Linked DNA regions of Homo sapiens: regions 1 and 2 are each linked to region 3. Evidence: promoter capture Hi-C in 16 types of primary human blood cells and fetal thymus (Javierre and others, 2016). All regions are on one chromosome and are shown on one strand. Each heading gives the region's core, a stretch centred on a gene start or on the middle of the fragment in contact. The rest is flanking DNA. Distances are from core to core; before and after follow the strand shown.

The links. The method cuts DNA at HindIII sites, captures the fragments that hold promoters and counts their contacts. A CHiCAGO score of 5 or more calls a contact.
Region 1: a contact is called between a fragment that was not itself captured here and the fragment with the promoter of MEIKIN in region 3, in 4 of 17 cell types (neutrophils, monocytes, non-activated CD4 T cells and 1 more). The highest score is 6.8, in neutrophils.
Region 2: a contact is called between a fragment that was not itself captured here and the fragment with the promoter of MEIKIN in region 3, in 1 of 17 cell types (monocytes). The highest score is 5.6, in monocytes.

Annotation. Positions count from the first base shown.
Region 1 is chr5:131,584,101-131,586,800 of GRCh38, forward strand. The region is part of intron 4 of RAPGEF6 (Rap guanine nucleotide exchange factor 6); the gene reads right to left. Among named protein-coding and RNA genes, the nearest start is that of RAPGEF6, 50 kb to the right of the region's middle. The HindIII fragment of the contact is 2,714 bases long and covers 47-2,700 here.
Region 2 is chr5:131,546,136-131,548,886 of GRCh38, forward strand. It overlaps RAPGEF6 (Rap guanine nucleotide exchange factor 6), which reads right to left. Exons shown (of 28, transcript NM_016340.6): 6 at 1,912-2,055. Among named protein-coding and RNA genes, the nearest start is that of RAPGEF6, 88 kb to the right of the region's middle. The HindIII fragment of the contact is 1,425 bases long and covers 717-2,141 here.
Region 3 is chr5:131,944,246-131,947,009 of GRCh38, forward strand. It overlaps MEIKIN (meiotic kinetochore factor), which reads right to left and starts at 1,418. Exons shown (of 13, transcript NM_001303622.2): 1 at 1,155-1,418; 2 at 911-1,004; 3 at 420-507. The coding sequence starts at 1,260. The HindIII fragment of the contact is 14,593 bases long and covers 1-2,764 here.

The sequences.
Region 1 (2,700 bases), core at 154-2,653, 360 kb before region 3:
TTATCTTTGTAATACTGGTGGTTTTACATGTGTTTATATATGCCAAAGCTTATCAAACTGTATACTATAAATCGTGCTGTTCAGTGTATGTCAGTTATACTTCAATAAAGTTTTAAAAATAAATAAAAATGCAAGTCAAATTAATGGGATAAAATGGTTAACAGACAGCTTGCATCCTGGATGTAGAAAGATTCTTATAGAATAATAATGAAACTGCCTCTGCAAAGTTATAACCATAAGAAAATTATGACAGTGAAAGAGATCTGATCTAACCAATACCCAGCTTTCCTTTAACCTCTAAACTGCCCTCAATCATTCCTTGGCCCCGGCCACCCTAACTTTAGGAAACATTTATAGTTTAAATGATAACTAAACTGCTTTTGTAAAGCTAATGAAAGAAAGACCACCAGATTACAAGGATGAGGAGCTGAATTCTGCTAAGCTGTAGACATAAATGATTACCAGTCATTATTCCAAAAGTCACAAGATTTGCAACTCCCTCAATTACTCCTGCAAGTAACAGTGCTATTGTAGAATTTGAGATTGGCCTATTGAGATGTCTTTTCAGGTTTTTAGCATTTCTGATGATTCATCAGTGGCCACCAGGACCCACAGACCTCCTGCTAACCAGTCCTGTGGCTTCACCCAGAATCCAGATTCCCTGGCCCACCAAACTATCCTTAAAAAATCCTAACCTCCAAATTTTGGGAGAGATGAATTTGAGTAATAACTCCATCTCCCACAGGGCGTGGCCAGCCTTGTGTCAATTAAACTCTTTATTACAATGCCATGGTCTCAGTGAATTGGTTTTGTCTGTACAGGTGGGCAGGAAGAATCCACTGGACAGTTACAGTAATAACAGGAGTTTAACAACAGGCACACAAAATTTAAGGGATACTTTATTAAAGAAAAAACAGAAAGCAATGGCCAATAAGCATAAGGGCATAAGGAAAAGTGTTCAACATCATTATTCATCAAAAACATGAAAATTAAAACTGGCACACACATATGTGGATATTTGATTTACATAAAAGGTGGCACTAAATGAGTGAGAAAAGGACATCTAGGTATCCCTATGGAAAACGACGCAACATTATACCATACCCAAAACTCAATTCCAGGTAGACTACAGATTTAACTGTGAAAGGAAAACAAGAAAAGTTCTAGAAAATAAGAAAAAAAAAAAACTATACATACATACATACATACATACATACATACATACATACATACATATATATCTCCATGGCCTTGTGAAAGCAAAGTATCTTGAGCCTCCCAAATCACTAAGCTAAAGGGAAAAGTCAAGCTGGAAACTGCTTAGGGCAAAGCTGCCTCCCATTCTATTCAAAGTCACCCCTCTGCTCACTGAGATAAATGCATACCTGATTGCCTCCTTTGGAGGGGCTAATCAGAAACTCAAAAAAAAACAAAAATGCAACCAGCTGGGCACAGTGGCTCACACCTGTAATCCCAGCATTTTGGGAGGCCGAGGTGGATGGATCACCTGAGGTCACGAGTTCGAGACTAGCCTGGCCAAGATGGTGAAACCCCGTCTCTACTAAAAATATAAAAATTAGCTGGGTGTGGTGGCGGGCACCTGTAATCCCAGCTACTGGGGAGGCTGAGGCAGGAGAATAGCTTGAACCCATGAGGTGGAGGGTGCAGTGAGCCAAGATCGCGCCATTGCACCCCAGCCTGGGCGGCAAGAGCGAAACTCCGTCCCCAAAAAACAAACAAAAAAAGCAACCATTTGTCTCTTATCTACCTATGACCTGGAAGCCCCCTCTCTGTTTCAAGTAGTCCTGCCTTTCCAGACTGAACCAATGCTGATCTTACATATGTTGATTGAGGTCTTATGTCTCCCTAAAACGTATAAAACAAAATTGTGCTCTGACCACCTTGAGCACATGTCATGAGGACCTCCTGAGGCTGTGTCACAGGCACACGTCCTCAGCCTTGGCAAAATAAACTTTCTAAATGAACTAAGACCTGTCTCAGATTTTTGGGGTTCACAACCTCAGAAACAGGAAAGACAAATTTTTCTACATTAGAATTAAGAGCTCATGTTCATCCAAAGACGTTACTAACAGAATGAATACGACAATGAATAAGACAGAGTGGGGAAAAGTATTTCCAACAAAAATAACCAAGCAAGGTTTCTTATTCAGAATATATAAAAAATTTCTACATCTCAAAAACAAAAAGACAACTTATTAGGAAAATGAGGAACAGACCTGAGAAGTCACTTTACAAAAAAGGTCATTCTAGGCTGGGTATGGAGGCTCAAGCCTCTAATCCCAGCACTTTGGGAAGCCAAGGCAGGTGGATTACTTGAGGCCAGCAGTGGTGAAACCCTGTCTCTACTAAAAATACAAAATTTAGTTGGGCGTGGTGTCACGCACCTGTGGTCCCATCTACTTGGGAGGCTTAGGCAGGAGAATTGCTTGAACCTGGGAGGTGGAGGTTGCAGTGGGCCAAAATTGTGCCACTGCACTCCAGCCTGGGTGACAAAGTAAGACTCTATCTTAAAAAAAAAAAGTCATTCTAATGAAAATGTATTCATCGGCAGTCATTAAAATGCAAATCAAAACTATAAAATTGAAAAGAATGACTGAAATTAAGCAGCCAAAAACTTTAAAGTAAAAAGACTTGTATTACTAAGTGTTGGTTAGAATGTGGAACAATGGGAACTCTCAC
Region 2 (2,751 bases), core at 179-2,678, 400 kb before region 3:
AAGATACTGAAGTTGAGACTAGAATGAGCAAGCAGTCAAAACACACTCTAGCTCACACTAGGAAAACTAAATATTACAGTTAAAGATTCTTTCATTTATTAATTCTACCTCTTGACATTTTTTCTATAGAAATGAAAATGTGGGCATACATTGTACTTAGCACCTTAATTTTTAAAAAATAAGGAAAAGGCCGGGCGCTGTGGCTCATGCCTGTAATCCCAGCACTTTGGGATGCCGAGGTGTGCAGATCACAAGGCAGGAGATCGAGACCATCCTGGCTAACATGGTGAAAACCAGTCTCTACTAAAAATACAAAAAATTAGCTGGGCGTGGTGGCGGGCGCCTGTAGTCCCAGCTACTAGGGAGGCTGAGGCAGGAGAAGCGCGTGAACCCAGGAGGCAGAGGTTGCAGTAAGCTGAGATCGTGCCACTGCACTCCAGCCTGGGCAAGAGAGCGACACTCCATCTCAAAAAAAAAAAATAAATAAATAATGAAGAACTGGAAAGAATGTAACTTATCAAATATCAAGAACTGAATAAATTATAGCATATTATTATAATGGAGTACTGTGCAGTCATTAGGAATAATGGGAAAAACATTTAACAACATTCAAAGATGTTTAGTTTATATATTTGTTTTTAAAAGTTAACAAAAATTTACATATTTAAGTTTTCAATAGTTAGCAAAAACCTTACAGATTTATCTGTATGTTGAAAAGCTTTATCCAAGAATTGCAAAATATCATCAAATAGTTATATAACTGTGTAATAGGAACAATCTGTTTCTAATTTTTCAAAAAAAGACACATATTACTTACACAGTAAAGCAAAATATGTCACCTTAATTAGTGATGGGAAATTTACAATACAAAAACAGAAATTGTTAAATAGTGAGAACAGGAAATAAACCTTGTTGTGGCTCTGGATATGATAAATTTTAGGACTATTTCATATTCTTGTATTGAATCAATGCAATTAGGCAAATGTGACAAACATTAGAGCTGCCTTAATTCTAACACTTATTCCAGTACAAACAACTCTCGAAATAATCTTTCTTACTCCTAACACCTAACATGGAATGAATAAATATCTGTTTATGACAACTGAAAAAACTAAACACATCCTTGGGAATTTCACTATATTCAACCATCCTTTTTATTATTATTTTTAACAAATGCAAACAAGAGGAAATGCTCTGTACTAATTGTTTTAATATTCTAGAAATCGTGAGTACTTTGGAAACTGGTAACTATGAAACCTCTCCCCTCAAAAATACACCTGATTTTTTTAGATTACCCTTATTTCTTGATTCAGCTACTTTTCAGTCTAAAAAGAAGCTATTCACAATTAAAGACTTTTGAAGACACAGCTTACTTTTTTTTTTTTTTTTTGGCAACAGAGTTTTGCTCTTGTCGACCAGGCTGGAATGCAGTGGTGTGATACTGGCTCACTACAACCTCTGCCTCCTGGGTTCAAGCAATTCTCCTGCCTCAGTCTCCCAAATAACTGTGACTACAGGCATGCACTACCACACCTGGCTAATTTTTGTATTTTTAGTAGAGATGGGGGTTTCACCATATTGGCCAGGCTGGTCTTGAACTCCTGACCTTGTGATCCGCCCGCCTAGGTCTCCCAAAGTGCTGATATTACAGGCATGACCCACTGCACCCAGCCTAATAACTTTTTTCACTATTTAAACAACAACAAAAAAGCAAAACCAGAACTCCCACTGGTAAGAGCATTCCTAACCAATTCAACCAAACAGAAGCATTTAAAAAGATTATATATTTACCTGCCCCAAATTTTCACATACAGAGCCCAGCATGTTGATATTACCAAAGATACATGTAAATTAAAGATACTAGATATGAAAATTAAGGAAGATTCATGAAGTGTTCCTAAATATACTCACAGAAAGATAGCTGTTAACCTCCACATCATCAGTAATGGTTTGGCGCTCTCCTTTATAGTTAATTTTCCGAAATCTTCTTCGGGATTGTCTGGCAGGAATTTCTCTTTGTAGAATACTATCTTCATTATCTTTGGCATTCTCTACCTGAAACACATGTTCATATTCCTGATGAAATATCAAATTTTTCCATATTATTGACAATCTATGGAGTCTTAACAGACTCATAAGGAAGCTTCATTTACTTCTTACAAGAAACTGCCTCAAGAAAACAGTCTGTATAGCACAACGCTCATGAGTTAAAGATTAGAGGTGATGTTATTATAAAGATCTGGAGACCACAGTTTCCGTCCAGGAAACAGTCTCTCTTGTGCACATAAACATACATCCTCTAAGTAAAGTCACTTACCAGAAATGAAGGCTGTTAACTACACCTACACATTCAATAATTACAACTTGAGTTCCTCTAATTACAAACTGCCTGATTATACACATATTTTACTTAGCAAACAATCCTGGTTATGGTTTTAGTTAATTGTTAAAAAGTAAAACAAGAAAACTTTATGCAATATTCTTTAATTTTCAACTTAATGCATGACAACAGCCACAAGTAAGGCTGGCATCTTCTAAGTAAGAAAATAAAATGGAAAATTAACATTTGTTAGGAGTTTAAAATAGGCCAGCATGCATATATATTAAGTAGTTAGTTCACACAACAGCCCTGTAAGCAGGTATTACTGTCTCTACTTTGTAGACAAAGAAAAACCCAAAGATATTAGTGACATTCCAGTCTCACAACAGTGATACTTATTAAAGGTGAGTTGGCAACCTGGCAACAGAGCA
Region 3 (2,764 bases), core at 168-2,667:
ATACAGCACATCAAGAAGTTATAAAATATTCTAATGAATAAACATTAGAATGCTCTGTAACATATTAAACCCTTAGTAATGAATGTTTCCAGTTGTTAATGGAAAATCAAATGGAAAACATGAAAAAAGGAGTTATTAAGTAACATTTTGTATTTGTCATACAGAAAATTCACCAATTATGGACGTTTCTCCAAAAACGTGTCAAGAGAAAGAGAAAAACAAAAATGCATGACTATGAATCTACCCAAGTCAGAAATTCAAGGCCCTGTCTAAAGACACGTAAGTGTTTATAAAAATACTGGTGAGCTATGTAACATCTACAGAACAAAGCCCATTTTATTCTTTCATCCGGAGGTACATCAGGTACTGATAGTCTCTACACTAAGTGTGTCCAAGGACTAAAAGAGAAGCATACATACACGCAACGATGCAATCTTCTCATCCTGGGTGTCTTCACTAGACCTATTTTCTTGCAGGCTTTTCTCTCCTGTAACTCCTAAGCGAGGGCTAACAAAGAGACAACGCAATTAGTTTGCACCATCTGGATTTGGCTCTCCACGTCTCTGTTCAGACTCTTTAGAATCTGAAAGGCTCTTTAGGGACATCTTTAGGAAGAAGTAAGGACCAGAGTGGTGACTTGCACCAAAACCCAAATGCAGTGACACAATCGTATAGCTCACCGACCAATTTATCTCACTTCCTTTTACGTAAATTGGCAAGCCTTCCCCTTTTTAAAAATAAATCTTCCTGAAGTCAAATTTTGGGGTCCATGTTCTGAGAAGAGCAAAATCAGAGTACTGTATTTGTTTTGCTCCTTGACTGTTAGAATAAAAGGCTACTAGCAGAAAATTCGGCTTGAAGTTTTCTGAGGTGGCAAGCTAGGATCGGGCTGTTACTGGAGGCTACATACCTGAACGGCCCAGAGCCGCTACCTCCCTGCCTGCTCCGCTCTGCTTTCTCTGCAATCTTCGACAAGCCGTGCACTTTGCCTTTTCTCTTCGAACCTGAGAGAGGGCGGCACGTTTCAGGGCAAGAAACCTACCCACCGGCTTCGGGGGGGTCCTGGGCCCGAGGCCTAGCACCCCCGCCCGCCCTCGGTCCCGTCCCGGAGGCAGCTCGGCTGAGCTTACGGTGGGCGAGCCTTGAGCCTGTACCTGGCGGGGCCTCGGCCTTCGCTGGAGAGCCTAGGTCTGGCGTCGGGGTGAGATTGAGCCTCTGACCCTCCCGCTTTTTGCGGGTATAGACCCGTAGCGGCCACATTGCTATCCCACCCTACCCCCAGGCCACGGGTGCCTCTGGACTCTCGATGGCCTGCCTTCCTGAGGATCAGGGCTAAGTCACAGGGAGTCAGCGTCCAGGCGAGGCCCGCGGAGCAGCCTCACAGCAACTAATCGAGCGAAAGCAAAAGCCCCAGAACTGGAGCCGCCGGGCCTCGCTCCCGCGCTTTTATCTCTGTGAGGCCGCGCAGAGGCTTCTGGGAAAACGGAGGAGCGCGGCAGCCGCCCAGCCTTCCTATAGGGGCCCAGTGGTTTCTGGCCTTCTGGCGCAGGTTCCTTCAACTCCAGCGAAACGAGAGTTTTTTGGAAAAAACTTTTTCCTCGTCCAGAAAAAGGTTTAATTCAGCCCCTCCTCCTCCGTCTGAGCACTTAGGTTTCGCCTGTGGCTGCATGCTTAATTCAACTGGGCATGCAGGAGTAAAGGCGTTCCCTCCTTTGGGTGGGCCCAACACTTCCTCTGAGCAAGCTCTCCCTATCAGCACTGCATAAGGCCTTAGTAATGGAGTTTTAGGCCACCAGCACAGGCAGTCTTGTGAGGGGTTGGCCTCAGTGCAGGAAGGTCACAAAGAGGACTGAATGCACCTTAAAGTGACAAGGAGCTTCTCCCTGAGGAATCAACTTCAGTCCCCTGGGCCTGCAACTGACTGGGAAGCTATGGTAATTAAGAGGCTAACCAAGCCTCTGAAGATCCCGGGCTCTAGGAGGCTGCTTCTGGACGACAAACAGTCCCTTAGCCTGTGTCCAGGAGCCATCTCTAGACATCTGGGCATCCTTGTGGTTAAGGTAGAAGATTCCATAGGGGCTCTCCTCCTTGTGCCCTGGGCCTCAACTTGTTGCTGCACCAGACCGATCTGTTTCTTCTTCTTCTTCTTCTTTTCTCCTTTCTTCTTTCTTCTTTCTTCCCCTTCCCCTTCCCCTTCTCCTCTTTTTTTTTTTTTTTTTTTTTTAAGACAGGGTCTGGCTTGTCACCCTGGCTGGAGTGGAGTGGTACAATCATAGCTCACTGCAGCCTCAAACTCTGGGCTCAAGTGATCCTCCCACCTCTGTCTCCCGAGTAGCTAAGACTACAGGCACATGCCACCATGCCCAGCTGATTTGTAAATTTTTTTATAGAGACGGGGTCTTGCTATGTTATCCCAGCTGGTCTTGAACTCTTGGCCTCACGTGATCTTCCTGCCTTGGCCTCCTAAATTCTTGGGACTACAGGTGTGAGCCACCTTGCCCAGCCTTGGTTCAACTTTTATGTAACAAAATTGTGAGTTGTTTTTCAGTTGCCATGAACCCTGAGGTCATGTAACCTGAGCATGCCTAGATGAACCAAGCATGCAGCCACAGGGGAAACCAAGTGCTCAGATCAAGGAGGAGGGACTGAATTAAGAAGTAGATATGGCATGGCAGGATCCAACCGGGTTGAGCTCTGGCTTCATCCCATAGCAGGATCCAGTCAGATCATGCCTCCCAGCATCACCTCATTACAAGATCCAATC